Linked DNA regions of Homo sapiens: regions 2, 3, 4 and 5 are each linked to region 1. The links are contacts of gene promoters, found by promoter capture Hi-C in blood cells and fetal thymus (Javierre and others, 2016). All regions are on one chromosome and are shown on one strand. Each heading gives the region's core, a stretch centred on a gene start or on the middle of the fragment in contact. The rest is flanking DNA. Distances are from core to core; before and after follow the strand shown.

Region 1 (4,084 bases), core at 584-3,083:
GAGGCCCAAGCAGGCAGATCACCTGAGGTTGGGAGTTCGAGACCAGCCTGACCAACATGGAGAAACCCCGTCTCTACTAGAAATACAAAATTAGCTGGGCGTGGTGGCACATGCCTGTAATCCCAGCTACTTGGGAGGCTGAGGCAGGAGAATTGTTTGAACCCGGGAGGCGGAGGTTGCGGTGAGCTGAGATCCCGAGATCGTGCCATTGCACTCCAGCCTGGGCAGCAAGAGTGAAACTCCGTGTCAAAAAAAAAAAAAAAAAATTCCAAACAAAAATATCAATAGCCATACGCAATGGAAATTTGGACTTCAACACAAGCAAGCAGTTTAAATAGTTTGAATATAAAAGGAGTCAGAATAGACAGGACAAGCCCTAAGGGACACTGTTTGGGTATAATGCTTTAGGTTGCCATGAGTATTTGCATTTTGTGGCTTATTTGGAAAGTGACATTATTTTATCAAATAACTGAGGCTCCAGAGAGGCTGGAGTCTGGGCAACTTATCCAAGGATGTCTTGATTGGGGTCACCAATCACTTTTATTCTAAATGTCATATTATTTGCTCTAGGTAGGCCCTCTGGGGGACATTGGCAGGTCTGAGGCAGAGTAAAAATTATAGCAAATACTGAGATCCAGCACTTACTATTGCCAGGCCCTGTTTTAAAAGCTTTACATGTATTTGCACATTTACTGCTCACAACCACCTTATGGGGAAGGTGCTAGGCAGGCAGGGAGGAGGAAATGGAAAGGGAAAGGAAAAGGGAAAAGAGCGGGGGAAGAAAGGAGCAAGAAAAAGTCAATGCAATTCGGCAATTATTTGTTAAGTGCTAACTGTATGTCAGGGTCTGGTAATCAACAGAACAGAGGAGGGTATAATGAAGAGGGGATATAGGTAGAGAAAAGAGGATGAGTGGGAAGAGGAGGAGGTTGGAGAGGAGGAAAGGAAAGGAGAAATAATGAAGACAAGAGAAAAGCAAGCCATGCACATGGAGGGCAATGGTAAGAGGAGAAACCTTTGCCACAACCTCAAGGGTTGGCCGCACTGTCTGGGCTGAGGCAGAGGCTGCTTTCTCCTGGCCCAGTCTTTTACCCATTGTTACCACGAGGTTGGCACAGCTTCCACACAGTCCTTTAATAAGCCAGCTCTGACCCTGGCGACATTTGGCCTGGTACAGCTCAAGGCAGGTAGCCTACACCCTGGCCTAGCCAGGCCTTTCCCTAGCTCACAAAGGTCAACTTCATAACGTGGAGCGTGAGCTTTTACCATGTTCTCAGAGAATCTGCCTCTTAGTATTTCTTTTTCTAAAGGCTTCATTGACCCATGTATCCCTATTGAGTCTTCAAGCACTATTTGACAGAAGGGCTTGTTTTTATCTGACTGCTCCCTGCAATATTACTTTTCCACTAAGTTTGCCAGAGGTACCCCTTTCTAACATTTGCTACCTGTTCGGATGGTCACCTCATGTCACATTTTTCTCTTCCTGTTCCGCCCACCCTCAGCCCTTGTCGGAAAGGACCCTTTCGGCCTCTCTAATCACCAGAAGGGACTGCCAGGGCCTTGTGCTGATGACACTCCCACCCTCCGTCAGCCTCCTCCACTAGCTGATAAATGGCACCAGCCATGCTGTCTCTCTGGTTTTTAGGGGTCCCAAGCAAGGTACATTGCTGCTGCTGCCCAGCCCCTGCCATACCCCAGACCCACCTCAGTCCTGACTTAATGCAGGTAGCTTCCCAGATGCATTGAGATGCCAGGACTTGGAAGGTGGGACTCGATCGCAGCAGACACTGGCCCTGGAGACATATTCTTACAGTCCAGAGAGGAAGGACAGTCTGAGCAAACCCCACCCTTTCACAGCCACTCAGTTCCCTTTTTTTGCTTCCTGACCTAAACCAATGTCTTTTTTTCTTCTCAGCAGCATGCTATCTGGTTCCCTGCTGCCGTCCCTATTCCACCCCCTCAACTGTCCCCGCCCTTCATTTGCTTGGGACCTCTGACACTACTATCTTGAGTCTATCTTTGAAAGAACCTTTCTCAACATGACTGGGGCCACTGAGACTCTAGATGGGGCTGGCCTGAGCAGACAGGTCATCAAGCTATCCTCCCAGAGGTAAAGGGACAACATACCTAAAGTACTATGAAGACAGTCAGCACAGGGAGAGGGGCTTACAGGAAAGAGGAGAGATGCTGGGGGCTGGCAGACACAGAGCAAAGAGACTGGCCAGGAAGAGCGTTTTTCGAGTCTCCTGTCCTCCGGGGCAGAGGAGTCTCAGGGACACACAGTTGAACTTGATAGTGAAGGGACCCCAAAGGACAAAACAAGACAGAGGTAGAGACAAGACTTCCCCGTGCTGAGTCATTTTCTAAGAAAGCATTTTTCCCCTACAGATAAAAATGTCGGAATATAAGCCCACAGAAATACTTGTGCCCTTCCCCATTTTCTGTGGATGTTGACTTTCTCCATTTAAGATTTGGCCTCAGGGATTAACTCTCAATGTCCACCTTTCTCTTGAGTCCTGTAAACCGGTAAAGCAGACTAGGTATGTCACTTGAAGCCTGGAGGTTTTCTCAGGGGCCCCCTACATTATGCTCCAACTGCAATGATTCCCCCAGGGATTCTCCTAGGAAATGCAGCCAGTATTGAATGCAGACCATGATGGTGGAGCCCCTGCTGACTGATCTGCCTGCCCACCTTGACACCTCGGGCACTGCCATATTTCCTTGCCCCAAGGCACTGTATCCTAATGTAGAAACAGATCACAGGTCCCACTACAATTTCATCCGAAGTTTTAAGTCAACAGGACCTTATTTTTTTTTCTTTATTTTGTCTAAAAAACAAACAAACAAGCAAACAAAAAAAATGGGGTATATGTGCAGAAGGTGCAAGTTTGTTACATAGGTATATGTGTGACATGGTGATTTGCTGCACCTATTGACCCATCCTCTAAGATCCCTCCCCTCACCCCCAAGCCCCAACAGGCCCTGGGACCTTTTTTTTTTTTTTTTTTTTTTGAGACAGGGTCTTGCTCTGAAGCCCAGGTTGGAGTGCAGTGGCGTGATCATGGCTCACTGCAGCCTCCACCTCCTGGGCTCAAGTGATCCTCTCACCTCAGTCACCCTAGTACCTGGGACTATAGGCACACATCACTGTGCTGGGCTAATTTTTCTACTTTTTGTAGAGATGGGGTTTCACTATGTTGCCCAGGCTGGTCTCAAACTCCTGGGCTCAAGCGATACTCCTGCCTTGGCCTCCCAAAATGCAGGGATTACAGGAGTGAGCCACCTCTCCCAGCCATCAACAGGACTTTAAATAAAAACATTTAAAGTATTTGTAGACTGATGATAGAGTGGTTGATACTCACATTTGCACAAGACAGATGGACAGCATGTGTTGTATGATTGCCTTACTTTATTGACAACGTCTATCCTTTCGCTAGTCACCCCCAATAGCTGTTCCACTCACCTGCCTGAGGGTTGGCCACAGGCATTCATCTTCCCTCCTCTTTTCTTCAGTTTTTTTTTTTTTTGAGACGGAGTCTTGCCCTGTCGCCCAGGCTGGAGTGCAGTGGCATGATCTCGGCTCACTGCAAGCTCCACCTCCCGGGTTCACGCCATTGTCCTGCCTCAGTCTCCTGAGTAGTTGGGACTACAGGTGCCTGCCACCACGCCTGGCTAATTTTTTGTATTTTTAGTAGAGACGGGGTTTCACCATGTTAGCCAGGATGGTCTCGATCTCCTGACCTCGTGATCCACCCGCCTCAGCTTCCCAAAGTGCTGGGATTACATGCGTGAGCCACCGTGCCCAGGCTCTTTTCTTCAGTCTTATGCCACTTGTTGTCACATGCCCTGTCCTTTCTCAAGATCCATCTTGGGGTGGGGACTGGGAGGTGATAGGCATCCAATGGGAGAGCTAAACAAGAGAGAGAGAGGAGCACAAGGGAAAAGAGCAAGTAGACGTAGGCTTTTCTTCACCCTCTGCCCACGACCACTCCCCTAGCACACTCATCCATACTGACAGAAAGACTGTACTCAGATAGTGCAAATAAACAGCTGAGTGTCACCTGAAGAGATTCCCAATGCAATA
Region 2 (4,084 bases), core at 1,064-3,563, 770 kb after region 1:
TATAGTGTGCATACGTACACATCTAAATGAAATAGTCTATCTGTAGACTGCTTTTAAATTGCTTTATTAACTTTACAGTATGCAATAAACATCTTTCCATGAAAGTTGATGAAAGTCCTCTTCTGACAGAAAAACTTACAGACTAGGTCAAAATGCAATCTCCAATCAGAAAATTGCAGAAGAATGCCAAAAGGTTCACATTAAAGGTACACCAGGAAAAATGCGAATTTAGAAAGCAGGGATTTTATGATTATTAACCTCAAGATTCAAGGCATAAGGCAAAACTCATCATGATGATCATGGTGAGGAGGGTCCCCTATAAGAATGCGCAGACTGTACCTCAACTGAAGTTCCCTAATTTTCCTCCTTAGCTCTCTCATCTCCTCCATGAACCGTTCCATATCATCTCCATCTCCATCTATCATATCAATGTTATCGACAAGCCTATTGGGCACATCCTCTCCAAAACCCGGGGCAGGTGGAGCCCAAACCCCTTTAACATTTCCTCCAGGCTCCTGGTATTCACCACCTCCTAAAGCGGGGGCTTCATTCTGCACTGGGGCCTTCTCCACAACTTTGTTTTCCTTGGGGACATTTTCCATGTTGAGTTTTTTTCCTGTTTTTTTTTTTTTTTTCTTCCTAGAAGATAAAAAGCAAGAAGAGGGAATGAATGCTTGATAGGATTCAGAGCTCTGTTTGGCAAAGGTTTTCCCACCTGAGAAACTTTATGAACCCTGTAGGGGGCGCCCCAGACCCAGCGCTGCCCCAAAGCCCATCATTTTCCCTGAAAATCCCTTCCCCAGGCCACTCCTACCGCCAAAATGCAAGACGACTTAGCGGAGGGGGACGATCATAGAGAGACCAGACTTCACCTCCCTGGGATCCTAATAAGCTCTCCAGGAGCGCCCCAGATCTCGCCCCTCTACTCCCTTCTTCCCTCATCAGATACAGGCTGTCATTTTATGAAGACTCTCCTAAGTTTCTCCTGCACTCAACTCGGGCAGGAAGGGCTGTGAGTCACCCAGATTCTGCTCTGATCCTTGATACCCCTACACCAGAGGGCCCCAGGCAACCTCCTACCTTCAGGGATCAGAGGCAGTCTTTCTCTCTTAGCCTTGAAATCGGCTGCACAAACGCACTTAAAGACCTGCAGACAAATGTGACAATTACCAGGACTGATCTTTTAATCAAAGGACCGGTAATGGGAGTTGATTTAGGGTTCTCCTAGTATTAGCACCTTCTGTTTCTCCTCCATCCTGTCTCACGGCTTCTTTTCCCACCCTGTGACAGGCTATCCCACCTTCCAGAAATAGGCATCAAAGATGATTATTTCCAAAACGTTTTAACCTCTTCTTTAGGCGCCCATCTCTACTGTTTCCTCTTACCTGTCATCTAGTTACCCTTTCTGCAACGCAGGCAACTTGCCTGGCGGGGGAGTTAGAAGAGCTTGCTGAATGAATACGTAGTTTATTCACAAAGAATTTCAATCTAGATATCCATCAGGCCCTCTCTCCACCCGATCCCCACTCCCATGCCCACCATTTTATGCATCAAGATGGACGATGAGTGAAGAGGTATGTGGGCATTGAAAACTAGGACCTGCTGCGGTCTCTGCGCTTTGTCATTCTCACTCCAGGATCTACAGGTAGCGCCCACGCTTACACCGACCGACCTGCTGAGACCAAAAACAGTTTCTCGCTCCTCGCCTCTGTCCCTCAGTCAGAAGCTCGCCCGCTCAACTGCCGCAATAGGGACCTGCTTTCCAGACCTAATCTCTGTCCCCCTCCTCTGCAGCAATTCCTCTCCTCGGCCCCCGCAGCCTATCATTTCCAGCTCTAAATGGGTAGAGGGTGAAGAAAAGATACCTAGAAGGCAGGCCTAAAACCTTGGCAGGGTCCGCCCTCCCCAACCCTTGGTTGCCGGCTGTACCTCCCTCCCGCGGACCTGCAGGAAGCAGGCTGTTTCCTTTCAGTCTCCTCCACCGGCTGGACTCCATCAGACATTGCCCGATGGCCGGCCTCCTAGGAGATCTCAAATGGTACCCATTCTCAATCCAGCCCCCTCGGGAGATCCTCTCCCCAACCGCTCCATTTCTCGCACTAAACGGGTGTGTATCTGGAAAGGGTGTGTATCCAGTCCTAGACCCGCTCTGGTCTTTGCCCTCTGCTGCTCACACACCGGTCAGCGCCACCTACCTGCCAGGGCTCAGGGGTCAGCTTCTACCACTTTCCACCTTTCCTGGGCAGCTGGCTCGCCTGCCTTCAGGGCAACAGCGAGCCGTCACACGGCCAGCGACAACTACCAGACTGCAACTAGGAGGAGGGACTAATCCACGCATTGGCTCTGGGTCTCCTAAGGGTCACGTCACTGTGAGCTCAGATTTCCAATTACCATTCACACCCGCAGTGCGGCAGGAGGGTGGGGGCGGGACTGTGGGCGGGGCCACCTTTCTCTTCATTCGTGCTTTCTCCACCACTACCACAGGCTACTATCCACCCCTCTATTTTTTTATTTAGCGATCCCCACGACCAAACGGGTCATAATATTTTGTATTTGGCTTGCTCTGGTTTCTGCTGGAGCTTTTAAAAAATCGCTTCTTCCTCTTCTATACACCTAAACGCACACTTCTCTCCCCTTCACGTCCAGCAAGTAAAGCCCTAACAGTCTTGTAGGGCTTGGTCCCAGATTGGAACCCGGAGAAGGGGTGGGGAGCGAGAGGCTAGGAAGTCTGGAAAATAGGCAGGAAGTGGTATTCAAATTTTTTTTTCACTTCAACTACTTTCCTTTTTGTTTGTTTATTTGGGAAGGGGGTTCCTTTTATTTTTCATCAGCATGCATTCATTTTGTTGTTGTTTTTATAACTAGACAATACAATTATTTTCAGTTGAAAAAACAGGATTCGAGTTGTAAAAACATGGCAATCTGTTTCTCCTGCTGAATCATATTATAAATATAAACCTTCCAGAAAGCATTCCCCTGCCTCCTTTAAGGACTTTGAAATAAGGCCGGGAGCGGTGGCTCGTGCCTGTGATCCTAGCACTTTGGGAGGCCGAGGTGGGTGGATCACGGGGTCAGTAGTTCAAGACCAGCCTGGCCAAGATGGTGAAACCCCGTCTCTACTAAAAATACAAAAAGTAGCTGGGCGTGGTGGCAGGCGCCTGTAATCCCAGCTACTCGGGAGGCTGAGGCAGGAGAATTGCTTGAACCTGGGCGGCAGAGGTTGTAGTGAGCCGAGGTAGCACCATTGCACACCAAGCCTGGGCGATAGAGTGAGACTCTGTCAAGAAAGAAAGAAGGAAAGAAAGAAAGAAGGAAAGAAAGAAAGAAAGAGAAAGAAAGGAAGAAGAAAAGAAAAGAAAAGAGGAAGGAAAGAAGGAAAGAAGTGATTTTCTCGTGAAGGATCTCTACATGTCCTTCCGTGAAATGATGCATTGAGTCTAATAGAGCCTCTCTGGTGGATTTTCATGTCTTGAGAACCTGTGACAAACTGATGATCTCCTCTAAATTGTATTAGTGTAACCACAATTTACAATAACACCTAGCCCTGATGATTCAGGACAATAATTTGGGGAAGCTACCCTGACAGATGAAAATGTATTGTGATGGACACATAGAGGGGAACAACACTGGGGCCTACAGGAGGGTGGAGGATGGGAGGAGGGAGAGGATCAGTTTACCTATATAACAAAGCTGCACATGTATTCCTGAACTTAAAATAAAAGTTTAAAAAGTATTGTGAAATTACAATGTTAAGATAATAGTGTACCAGAATAAATTTAGAACAAATGAACCAGAAAAGAAATTCAATTATCAAACCCAAATATGGAAAAAATGCTAGTAAATGCATTGAAATATTTTGAATCAGTGGGGAAAGGTTAGATTGAAGAAATTGTATCGGGATAATTGACTATTTTCAAAAACAATGAAGTGCCTTATCATTCTCATACACTTAAAAATAGACACTAAATGTTTGCATAAAAGACATTAAACCATTAAAAATAGAACTTAGCATGTTATTTTTTATATAATAGAATGGAAAAGTTGTTTTAAATACAGCACCAGATCCTGACAAGACCAAAAGGCA
Region 3 (4,084 bases), core at 764-3,263, 560 kb after region 1:
AATAGAAATGATAACACTCCGGATCATAGTTATGCTGAAGGAAATAATTGGGTAATTTGTGTCAAGGAGCAAGCATAGTACCTGGCACACAGCAGTCATGGAGTTCCTGGGGTTCCCAGAGTACAAGGACCATGTAAACTTTCTTCAATCCTTCCCAAAACCAGTGAGCACATATTTGGTGATAACAGCAACAATAACAACAACAAAAAACAGTTTTTAAAGTTTCTTCTTAATGTAGAAAAAGATGAAAAAACAAGTTTAAAACAATATCACTTGTTGATATTTGTTGTGAAAAGTTGGTAGGATAAAATGAAGGAAGTTAATAGGATAAAAAAGAAGCATGGGGTTGATAGGTGCAGCAAACTACCGTGGCACATGTATACCTATGTAACAAATCTTCACGTTCTGCACATGTATGCCAGAACTTAAAGTAAAATAAAAAAATGGAAAGCTGGTGATTTTAAATCATGTTCACAAAATTTTTGACAGTTGCTATGGTCTGAATGTTTGTGTCCCTCTCAAATTCATATGTTGAAATCAATTTCCCAATGTGTTAATATTAAGAGGCGAGGTCTTTGGGAAATGACTAGGTCATAAGGGCAGAGGCCTTGTGAATAGGATTAGTTTCCTTATAAAAGAAGCCTGCAAGAGCTTGTTTGCCCCTTTTGCCCTTCTGGCATGTGAGGGTACAGCTAAAGGGAGTCATCTTTGTAGCAGGGAGCAGGCACTCACTAGACATCAAATCTGCTGGCAACTTGATCTTGGACTTCTCAGGCTCCAGAACTGTGAGCCATAAATTTCTCTTGTTTATTGATTACCCAGTCTAGGGTATTTTGTTATAGCAACCCGAATGGACTAAGACAGAAACTGGTACCAAGAAGTGGATTGCTGCTGCAACTAGTATCTAAAAATATAGAAGTGGCTTTGGAACTAGGTAATGGGTAGAAGCTGAAAGAATTTGGAGGCACATGCTAGAAGAAGACTACATTGCCATGAGTGGAGCATTAAGAGTGATGCTGGTGAAGGCTCAGAAGAAGAGGAGTGCTGTAGAGAAAGCTTCAGTCTTCTTAGAGATTACCTAAGTGGTCATAAGCAGATGCCAAAGGTGTTAACTGCTTACACCCCGAGCCGACCAGTTGCACTTCAACAGTCCTAGGAACTGCCCAGACCACCCATTTTCCAGCCTAGGGTCTATATGGGTCTATTCAGATTACTGCACCAGAGGGAGGGTACTGGACTAAACAAAATGCATTAAACTTCCTCTATCTCCACTAATCTTCATTCTCCTTCTGGTTGGCTGGTAGGATTACAAATTATGATATATTCAGCTAACATACATTGAGAATTTAAGTGTCAGGAACAATACCACTTAAGATATGTGCACTCCTTCTTTTATTCTTTCCAACACTTTTATGTTGTGTGTACTTTTATTTTTATTTCATAGATGAGGAAATAAGTTCTTAGGGAAAACACATAACTATGGTTAATTATCATGCAAACAACAATAAGTTAAACTCAGGCTTTCATTAAATATATCTATATATTAGATCGCTTTATGAACTTGCCATTTTGTTCCTTAAACATTCATTATCATGTTTCTAGCCATAAAATGGGCACTTCTCACTTACGACTCTAGATATAGGATACCCAAATATAATATCACCTTCCACTTAATGACACCTTCCCATTTTACTACCTCTTTTCTATTTTGGCATAAATTATGCCAGATTGATGCCTGGATTTAAGGAAGATAACAGAATGGGGATCAATAAAATCCAGAACCTCCCCCACCCCAAAAGTTTATTCCATATGCCACAAAAAGGCATTCTGCCAAAGTCTGCCGTCATTCTCCTTTATAATGGTTTTTAAGTTTAGTTAACTAACTGTAGGTTCTTAACAGGGAATAGAGATCTCTGCAACTGATCCCACACTTACAACTGTGTAGATCTTCCAATGAAGAATAAAAGATCTGAAATTAGTATTCAGAGCCAATATTATTAAGTAGGATACCAGCTCTGGCTCCAACCCATCACAGTGATGTTGAATGAGGAGCCACTACAGGATTCAAGATGACAATATCCATGAATCTCATCATAATAAACAAACACCCTGAGCATACCAGGGACTATATGCCAAAAGCCTGAAAATGTTGTAGAGCATTTATTCTGGTTATGCTTGTCCTGGCCAAGACTTAATTTAGTTCATGGTTTGGATGTGGACTTTGCCACTTCTGCTCAATGCCAAAGTCCTTGGGCTTCTTTTCCTCCTTCTTGTTTGGAGTATTCAATTAGTTCACAGTTTTTCTATAAGAAGTGACTCTGTAACTGCTAGGGCAAAAGACAAATCTCTGGACACTTTCATAATAACTTTTCAAAGGTACTTTACCTCAAGGTCTTAAAGGTAGCTCCAGACTCACATCAGGAGCCCTGACCTCCCACCACACTAGGTTCTTTACAGTTAACATCCACAAGCAGTAATGAACAACACAGGCCAACAATCATCACCTCAAGAATGATGACCTCAGACCGTCAATCCAACTTTTCCAAGATGATGACCTCTGCCAAAGAGACCAACTCTTTCCAAATGATGATCTCAGCACAACTGACAGTCCCAGCATTAACAATGATACCCTAGGATGTCCTGCCCCCAAAATTCCATGCCCAAACCCACCAAACAAAGATTTTGATCTCCTCCTTGCTTCCAAAAACAACCCCTGGCTCTTCCACTCCACCTGTAAACCCACCTGGATCCCCTATAATTTCCCCAACTACTCTTTCTTATTTCTCACCTCCTGCCTTATACCCCAAGTTTCAATCTATGCAGATATTTGTTTCCTACCTACCAGATGCCAACACCACCATGGTTACTGTGAACTGCTTAACTAAAGATCCCACCCATCCTGCTTATATATGCCTTTGTGATTTCATATACTTCTTATTTATGCAATGTTAAGGATACCTTACAAAGAAGTAAAGCTTATTGGCAGGTCCTTACTTGCCTAGACCATACCTAAACCCTGTTGAATGACACCATGGAGAGATCTCACAAATACAATCCCACTGGGGATTACTGTTTAAACATATTAATTTTGAGGGGACACAAACATGCAGCCCACAACAACCTCTCTCATTTAGCCTCCCCACAGAAAGAAGCACCAACCTATCTTTTTCTATCATATTGGACCTTATGACAATCTCTGGTATAACAGGAACACATTTAGTTATTTTCAATTCTGTAACACAGACTGAATTCATAAGGCCACTCAGACATTGTCACAGTCCTGGCAGACCATATACAGTAAGCATCTTAAGCCTTAGAAGCCCTTAATGAGGCACAAAGCCCTCTAGTTGCTGTGGTAGCTGACAAAAGATTAGCATTGGACTACCTACTGCCATGTCAAGGTAAAGTTTCTGTCTTAAAGAGGACCTCCTGCTGCATGTAGGTTAATAAGACAGAACAAGTCTCCAGAATATTTAAACAAATAGAACAAACCAAAATAATTAATAATACTACAAGAGTACTCTAAGAGATTCTCCAGACCCCAGTTGATACCTTCTCTTGGCCGTCTCCTGCATGCAGTGACTGGCTCTGCCCTATCTTTCAGGGAGCTATAATAGTTGCTGGTCAAATTATTGTGAATTGACTTTGCAAATTTGATCTCTCTCAGACAAAGTATATGTTTATTTACGGGAAACCTGAGCAGTTGCTGTGCTTACTCAGATTTAGGCATAATTGAGAAGACCACAGGAAAAAAAATCTTGTATCCCCACTGATACTTGACTGAGTGTCAGCAACCCCTAAGCCACATTCCTACTGTGTCTTTTGCCTTCCTTTAGCATTAGTATCCTGATAACCGTCACTCTGCCCCCACACACATACCACAAGCTAATGCACCCTCTTGATTCCTCTTTTAAACTTTTTGCTGGCAACTTCCTCTTTTATAAAGTGCCTGTGTACTTGCCAGTCTCTCTCTCTCTCTCTCTCTCTCTCTCTCTCTCTCTCTCTCTCTGTCTCTCCCTCCTCACCTGCCCCTAGGCTCTCTCCCAGAGGGCTAACCTTTCATCCTCTTGCCTTGAGATTTCCC
Region 4 (3,426 bases), core at 1-2,500, 560 kb before region 1:
CAGAGCACATGACATCTGAATGAATATAGATTCGATTCCAAGTTTGTAAAACAAAGAGATCCTTCCCGTATGCCCTTTTCTTATAAGCTAACTTTGTGTGTATGTGCATGCCTGGCACTGTGGTTGGCACTTCGTTATTCCATATGCATTATCTCATTTAATCCTCAAAGCAATTGTATGAGGTTGGCACTCTTATTATCTCCATTCTTACTGATGAAAAAAGTAAAGCTTGCTTTCAAAGCATGACACAAAACCTTAAAGCCATAAAAAATTGATACATTTGAAAACTAAAAAATTTCTATATAAAGAAAAAAATAAGTATCAAAGACATGACAAATTGAGAAAAAGTATTTACCACACATGTGATGGAAAACAGACTAATAAAGAGCCCATAGTCATTCACAAGAATGTTTATTGCCTTAGAGTGAAAAATTGGAAATGTCCTAAATGTACGTCAGTGGAAGAATGGAGAAAATGTGTGGTACATTCATCCAGTGAAATACTGTACAACAGTTAAATAAACTACACGTATCAACATGAATGACTTTGAAAAACATAATTCCATACAGCAGTTAAGATGAACTAGGATACATAATATCAACACAACTCCAAAACAGTGACATACGGACATGAAACTAAGTGAATATGGATGCATTCCCGAAATGTAGGATATATGTTTCTGCATAAATCCCCAAAATATGTGGAATGAGTTGCAAAATAATATATTGAGTATGTAATGATTCATATAAAATTTTGAAACATTAAGAAGACGTCTTAGTGGTCATCAAAGGAGAAGAGAGCACAGGATGCAATTGGGGAAGACCGTACAGGCCATTGGTTTATTTTATTTACTTATTTATTTCCTAAGCTGGGTGGCTATTTTATTTTCTATATGATTTGTATATCTGTAATTTTTCATAATAAATTTTAAAAGGCCTCCTATAAATTAGTAAGAAAATTTCCAATAACCCAGTAGAAAAATGGGAAATAGACATAAATATTTCACAAAAGGAGAAATATAAATATATAAAAATTTATTCAACTTCAAAATAAGATAATGTAATAAATTATCATTTATATATGTAATGTTATAAGATAATGTAAATAGAAACTACAATAAGCTACCATTTTTCATCTCTCAGGTTGGCAGAGGTACAGGGCAGGGACCAGCAAACATTTTTCTGTAAATGATCAGACAGTAAATATTTTTGGCTTTGCAAGTCACAGGATCTGCCACAGCTACTCTGCCATGGTAGTATGAAATCAGCCATAGGCAATAAGTGAACAAGTGTGTGTGGTTGTGTTCCGTTAAAAGTTTGTTTATAAAACCAGGCAGTGAGCCCGATTTGGCCCATGGGTCATAGTTTGCCAACCCCTGCTCTAAATAAATAAATACATTTTCAGAGATAGAAAAAAAAAGCTAAGGCCCAGAGAGGTTAGCTGGTCCAAAAATTGACACAATTATAAGTGGCAGATCTATTTCTGAACCTGGTTTTATCTGACCTCACAGCCAGTTTTCTCTTAACTACTTTCCTATACAGCTCTTCCTTTTCTTTTGTAGAGTTTTGTGTTCCTTAAACGTATATGTGATTTTTTTTATATAACTTGGCTTTTATTCTTTATTTATTGAGCTGTTTCTAATTCAAGGGACTACTCAGTTTTTTGGGGAATGCACAGATGAAAAGATGACATTCTCTTTTTCTCAACGAGTTTTAATGTAGCATTTAAAAAAATATATTTCACATTCCCCCAAAACCAGAATTATATCTAAGGACAGGAGTGAGAAAAGATTGGTTAAATTAAAAAAAAAATTTAATTTTAAAAATGTGGACTACCAGCAGTTGTTTTTTTTAAAAGAGTCCCAGTCTCCTTTTATGTTTCTTGGGTTTAGGGCTTTTTTTTTTTTTTTTTTTTACTCTTATTGGCAGCCCCAATCATGAAGTTAACAGTAGGTGTTATGTGCTGCCTTGCCACACAGATAAGACTTGTCAATCTCTACATTGAGAATATGTTCCATCTTAACCGTGTTCCATATAACCAGGCTCATGACGTATATTGCTTCTGTGGAGTTTAAAGTGTGTGACAAATCTAATGCTGCATAAGACATGCCATACAAAAAGGATGTTTAGTAGTGTATTTGGGGCTGTTCATTTGAAGAGGACTTTTAAGGTCGTAGACTTAGTATATTGAGTATCCACAGAGGCATATACATACTCTGTTTTTTTTGCTTGGTCAGGGTGGAATGCATGTCAATGGCGCACCTCCTCTGATGCAAGCTTCTATGCAGGGTGGAGTTCCAGCACCAGGGCAAATGCCAGCTGCTGTCACAGGACCTGGCCCTGGTTCCTTAGCTCCTGGAGGTAAGTTTCATTTAGTCTTCACCATTTCAGTACTTGCTAAAGTTTTGTCATAGCCACTGTTGCAGTGCAGCCAAATATGATAATGGGATCCTTAGGTAAAATTAATACACAGCTAGAAAGTATATATCTTAGGTGGAGGAAATAGTAGATTTCTTACGTTAAATCCTGTATGTCTAATTATAAGAACAGGGAAAGGGACAGTAAAGTGAAAGAGCATAGTAAAACTTCCAAGTTAACAAGGGGGAAAATGGAATGAGTGGAAACAAAATCAAGCCAGCAAAAATAGAGAAGAGGAAAAAAGTAAGAGACAGTGTAAAATAAGTAATAATAAATGTAGAGTAAGATGGAAGGAATAAAAACTAATGTAGTTGTTACTCTGCTAAATATGAATGAACTGTCAGATTAGGTTCAAAAGCTCATGAAGAAAACAGACAAAAAAATACAAGGTCACATTTGTTATAGCATATTAAACTGACATAAAATTGTATTTTAACAAACATAATCAGAACAAACAACAAAAGGGAAAAAGAGAAATTTAAAAGCTATGTACATTTATTGAAAATGTATAGATCGGCAATTAATAAGAGTATTGCTCATATACTTGTAACTGTTCCTTGTTCAACAATTGTAACTAAGAAGATTGAGTGAAATAATGATTCCCCATATGAAACATCTGTATGAACACATGATGTATTACCAATATTTAAAGTTTTTTTATGTAACAAACTTGGTTTTTGTTAATTTATCTAATCTAGGGTAGGTTGAGTACAACACTACTCATGGAGAATGATTTAATTCTAAATTGTTCTGTTCTGTAGAGAATCCAGTCTGCAGAGCTAAGTTGATGAGGAATGGAAGAAGAGATTTTTTGAAGAAATTTCTGCAAACTCAGGAATTTTTTGTATCTACTTTAGGATTGTTATGTATCTACTTTATCCTAATAGAGTTATACTTGTATTTAAATTATCTTTCATGACAGGAGGTCCATGGGTAAGTGACATTGTTTTCCTGTATTATAGAAGAGCTTCCTGCCAAGAGTTTGGTAACCAATGAAATGAATTATTCT
Region 5 (4,084 bases), core at 716-3,215, 540 kb after region 1:
AGTTCTTCAGAGTGGAGAAATATGGTCATATAACAAAACTATGACCTATACGTACAGAGTTTCAATTTGGGATGATGAAAAAGTTCTGGAGATGGACAGTGGTGAAGCTTGCTTGGCAATGTAAATGTAGTTAATGCCACTGAATTTCACACTTAAAATGGCAAAGTTTATGGTGTGCATATTTTACAATAAAACATAAAATAAAATATTGAAAAAAATAAAAGATAAAAGCATCTGAATCACTGCATGAAGGACAGCTGCCCTGCAGAGTCAACCTGCTGCTCAGAGGAAACTGCATGAGCAAGTGATGGTTGTTTTGCTACCATGACATAAACAATCCACTTCTGAATAACATTTATGATGGTTATTTGAAATGAAATGGTAGTTTTGTGACAAATTATAAATGGGATCTGATCAGAGAGCTCATATATTCCAGTAATGTATTTGATTACATTTAAGTGTGGCTTCAGCATTTGGTGGGAGAAATGAATAAACTCCAATTTTCTATAAATAAGAGTGTTTTACCTCTTCATTTCCCTCTTACAAGAAATGTTTTCATGACCTAAGAAAATAAATCTTTCATAATAATTTGTAATGGGGAGAAAAACTATGACCTACAGTACTGGGATGTTGGAAAAAAATAAATAAGATTCTGAGTTGGTCAAACAGATTCAAATCCCATCTTTACCCACAACTATATAGCCTTCAGCAAATTATGTAACCACTATGGACCGTTTTTTATTTCACCTAAAAGGTACAGAAATACAATGTGTAATTTTTAATTCTAGGATTTGGTGAATGTTAAATGAAATAATTTTTAAAATGTTCAACACATGTAGGCACTTGATAAAGTATGCTTGTTCACTAATCCAGAAGCTTTGCATTTTTTACTTAATATTATACATAATCATTTTATTTAGACCAGAGTTATTTTAGAGGTCATCTAGTTCATGGTTTCTGAAACTCGGCACTATTGTCACTTTGGGCTGGATAACTGATTGTGGTGAGGAGCCTGTCCTACGCATTATAGGATATTTGGCAGCATCTTTGGCCTCTGCCAATCAGATGCCGGTAGCATTCCATAGTTGTGACAACCAAAAATATCTCCAGACAACGTCAAATATCCCGTGAGGCAAAACTGCCTCCAGTTTAGAACCAATCCAATGTCCTCATTTCATAAAGGAGGAAGCTAAGGCCCAGAGAGGTAATAGGAATTAAAGAATTGAGGGAGGTAAACTGTAAAACATGATTCTAGACTCAGGTGGATTTGGTCTATCAAAAAATTCTAGTAGTCTGGGAAGAGACAATAGTAATAGAGGGATGTTCTTAAGTCAGTAAGATGCAATTAGGAGTACTAATAGCTCACATTCTATGGACTTGGGCATTACTAAAATTCCTTATGTTGATATAAAATACTCAATTCAGTTTGTACCAGAATATCTGCCTTCAATGATATAAAAAGCAAAGAGATTGACTTGACAGAAACTTACTTTTTAGCTACTTTTGTTGGATTGTGCCTACTCCAAATAGCAGCACTATTATGTGAAAGTAAAGTAACATTAACTTCTGCATTCAAAAGTGCAGCTGAGTGTGAAATCCAAATTATCATATTTGAAATTTTCTAATTAATGCTACTACATAACAACAGGCAATTTAAGATGAAATGCATTTTTATGACAAAAATAAAACATTTATGGCTTGAGTGAGAATAATGAATTTGGTCCACCCATGCTTATGGAATTGTAAACCATGCAGGATCTCTGAGGAAAGGAACCAGAAAATTACCATATTTCTTCAGTTCCGGGCAAGAGAATTCTCTGTTCATTCCAATTAAATGTTCTTTGTTAACCCCCAAGTTTAAGCTATTCAAATTAGGTGACTCTATTTTAGATATAACTGGCTATATTTAATAAAGTGAATCTCACTTGCATTTGTTAAATGACAATTAGGTTGAGTTGCACAAAACCCCAAATTTCCTCCTCAGGATAACCCGTCAGATGTTTATGGGAAAAACTTGCTATTAGATGTTTTAATGCTTTGCTGAAGTGGGAAGTTCACAGGCCAACTGATCTTGATGCAAAAACATCTAGCATTATAAAGGATTCGTTGTATACCCTATTTTAATAAAGTAACAAAAATGGAGCAAACTTCAGGACTGGCTGCAATATCATAAACATAAATCTCATTCTCAGTCACAGATTTCAAGTCAGGCATTACAAAATCTGAGAAATAATCATTTTAATTGTGCAAAGAGCACATGTGCTATATTTTCCATGATTACACTTTTAAACTCCCTCAAGCATTCTTGATTAAATAGAATTAAAAAAAACTGACTTGACCTTTGCAATCTTTTAACACCATCACAATCTTAGAAAAGAATGAGCAGAGCACAGCACTAAGTTATAGGAGACTGGGGAACTGAGTTAACCTACACAAAATGTTTTAACTCTTTTTCCCCTAAAGGTCACACTCTGTTTAAGGAATTTTCATGAATAATAGCTGTGGTAGAAATGCAGATCTGTACCTCTCAGCATGATGACCACTCACAGCTATAATGCTATCTAGTGTCCTTAGTTTTTCAGTTTATAAGACTACCACCTGACTTATGAGTTTGCCAAGTTTTAGCTACTTTACACAGTTATCACAATCAAAGAAATAATGAAGGGTTTCCCATGGCATGTTAACAATTACATATTACAACAGAATTAACAAAATAATTGGGAGTACTAGTTATATGTTTAACATTTACATTGTCTTTATTTAAACCAAGTCCTTTACCTTCATAATCATAAGCACTTTGTAGCTAGCCAGCTCAGGGTTCATGCTTGTGAAGTCAGAAACTGAATTAAGGTACTGTGTAAATCCATTAACACACCTGATCCCATGACAGCTACTTTGCATCAGAAAGCCACCAAATACATGGCATTCATTCCAACAGGTTAGTAAATGTGAATGAATCTGCAAGGCTGGTTTCAGATGAGAAAGAATCAAAGTTTTTATCCTAACTGATATGTAATAAATATAGTAGGGGGTATGCTTAAGTTAGTCTTTACAACAAGCTTAGTTAGTATTTTCACACACTGAAATCTAATAGAGAGGATCACAAACGAACAAATAATAATTTACCTCTCTCCAGATATCTCCACCTGCCAAATGCAGATAATTAAAAACTAATTCTGTAACAGTTTACTATTCTTCCGTCACACCATTAGATTTACAGTATAATTTGCTTCACTGTGCCTGTAGTATATAAAATACTATGAGCTACAGAGTACAGATTTATAATAAACAATGGAATGGTCCTGTGGCTCAGGATTCTGACTAGTAACATTTAAAACTGCATTCCTTCCCTTATTTAAATATTTTATAATTTTACTATCAAGCACTATTATTGAGTTGTTTAGTATAGCTGTGTTTAATTTGTCCGTATATCCTTAACACTAAGCATAGTGCCTGGCACACACACATAGAAGTGTTCAATAAATGATTCCTGAATACATGAAAGGTTACCCACTAGATTTTCTTTTTCTTTCTTTTTTTGTTTGAGATGGGGCATCGCTCTGTTGCCCAGACTGGAGTGCAGTGGCACTATCTCCGGTCACTGCAACCTCCCACTCCCAGGTTCAAGTGATTCTTCTGCCTCAGCCTCCTGAGCAGCTGTGACTATAGGCATGTGCCACCACGCCCGGCTAATTTTTTGTATTTTTAGTACAGACAGGGTTTCACCGTGTTAGCCAGGATGGTCTCCATCTCCTGACCTCGCGATCTGCCCGCCTCCGCCTTCCAAAGTGTTGGGATTACAGGCGTGAGCCTCCGCGCCCAGCCTACCCACTAGATTTTCTTATGGTGGTCTTACTATCATTTGACTTGAAACTTTACTGAATAATATGGAGACAAATGATAGTCTTGTTAGGGCATTGCTACACAAACGGATTAATAGCTAAATAAAAAGCCAGAAGGTCTTCCAATCTAAAACAGGATAAATTTGATATATTTTTTCTTAAAAGGAAGAGGTAAATAAGCAATTTTTTTTTTACTATGAATATATCAGAACATTATTCCTGGGTGAAAATTCATTTTTGAG

Evidence for each region. Contacts are between HindIII fragments. The CHiCAGO score rates a contact against its expected background, and 5 or more counts as called.
Region 2: a contact is called between the fragment with the promoter of BEX5 here and the fragment with the promoter of BTK in region 1, in 2 of 17 cell types (naive CD4 T cells and activated CD4 T cells). The highest score is 5.2, in naive CD4 T cells.
Region 3: a fragment that was not itself captured here is called in contact with the fragment with the promoter of BTK in region 1 in 1 of 17 cell types (total B cells); the score reaches 6.0 in total B cells.
Region 4: a fragment that was not itself captured here is called in contact with the fragment with the promoter of BTK in region 1 in 7 of 17 cell types (non-activated CD4 T cells, activated CD4 T cells, naive CD8 T cells and 4 more); the score reaches 11.4 in non-activated CD4 T cells.
Region 5: a contact is called between a fragment that was not itself captured here and the fragment with the promoter of BTK in region 1, in 11 of 17 cell types (neutrophils, fetal thymus, total CD8 T cells and 8 more). The highest score is 11.1, in neutrophils.

The regions. Positions count from the first base shown.
Region 1 is chrX:101,384,358-101,388,441 of GRCh38, forward strand. It overlaps BTK (Bruton tyrosine kinase), which reads right to left and starts at 1,834. Exons shown (of 19, transcript NM_000061.3): 1 at 1,705-1,834. RefSeq lists an enhancer at 1,101-1,320. The HindIII fragment of the contact is 7,609 bases long and covers 668-4,084 here.
Region 2 is chrX:102,153,664-102,157,747 of GRCh38, forward strand. It overlaps BEX5 (brain expressed X-linked 5), which reads right to left and starts at 2,314. Exons shown (of 3, transcript NM_001012978.3): 1 at 2,196-2,314; 2 at 1,081-1,147; 3 at 49-639. The coding sequence starts at 602. The coding sequence ends at 267. RefSeq lists an enhancer at 2,131-2,270. The HindIII fragment of the contact is 12,891 bases long and covers 1-4,084 here.
Region 3 is chrX:101,944,985-101,949,068 of GRCh38, forward strand. No RefSeq gene overlaps it. Among named protein-coding and RNA genes, the nearest start is that of ZMAT1, 15 kb to the left of the region's middle. The HindIII fragment of the contact is 1,919 bases long and covers 1,055-2,973 here.
Region 4 is chrX:100,824,398-100,827,823 of GRCh38, forward strand. CSTF2 (cleavage stimulation factor subunit 2) reads left to right here. Exons shown (of 14, transcript NM_001325.3): 7 at 2,237-2,360. Among named protein-coding and RNA genes, the nearest start is that of CSTF2, 5.7 kb to the left of the region's middle. The HindIII fragment of the contact is 2,048 bases long and covers 227-2,274 here.
Region 5 is chrX:101,924,832-101,928,915 of GRCh38, forward strand. All of the region lies in intron 1 of ZMAT1 (zinc finger matrin-type 1), which reads right to left. Among named protein-coding and RNA genes, the nearest start is that of ZMAT1, 5.2 kb to the right of the region's middle. The HindIII fragment of the contact is 2,183 bases long and covers 875-3,057 here.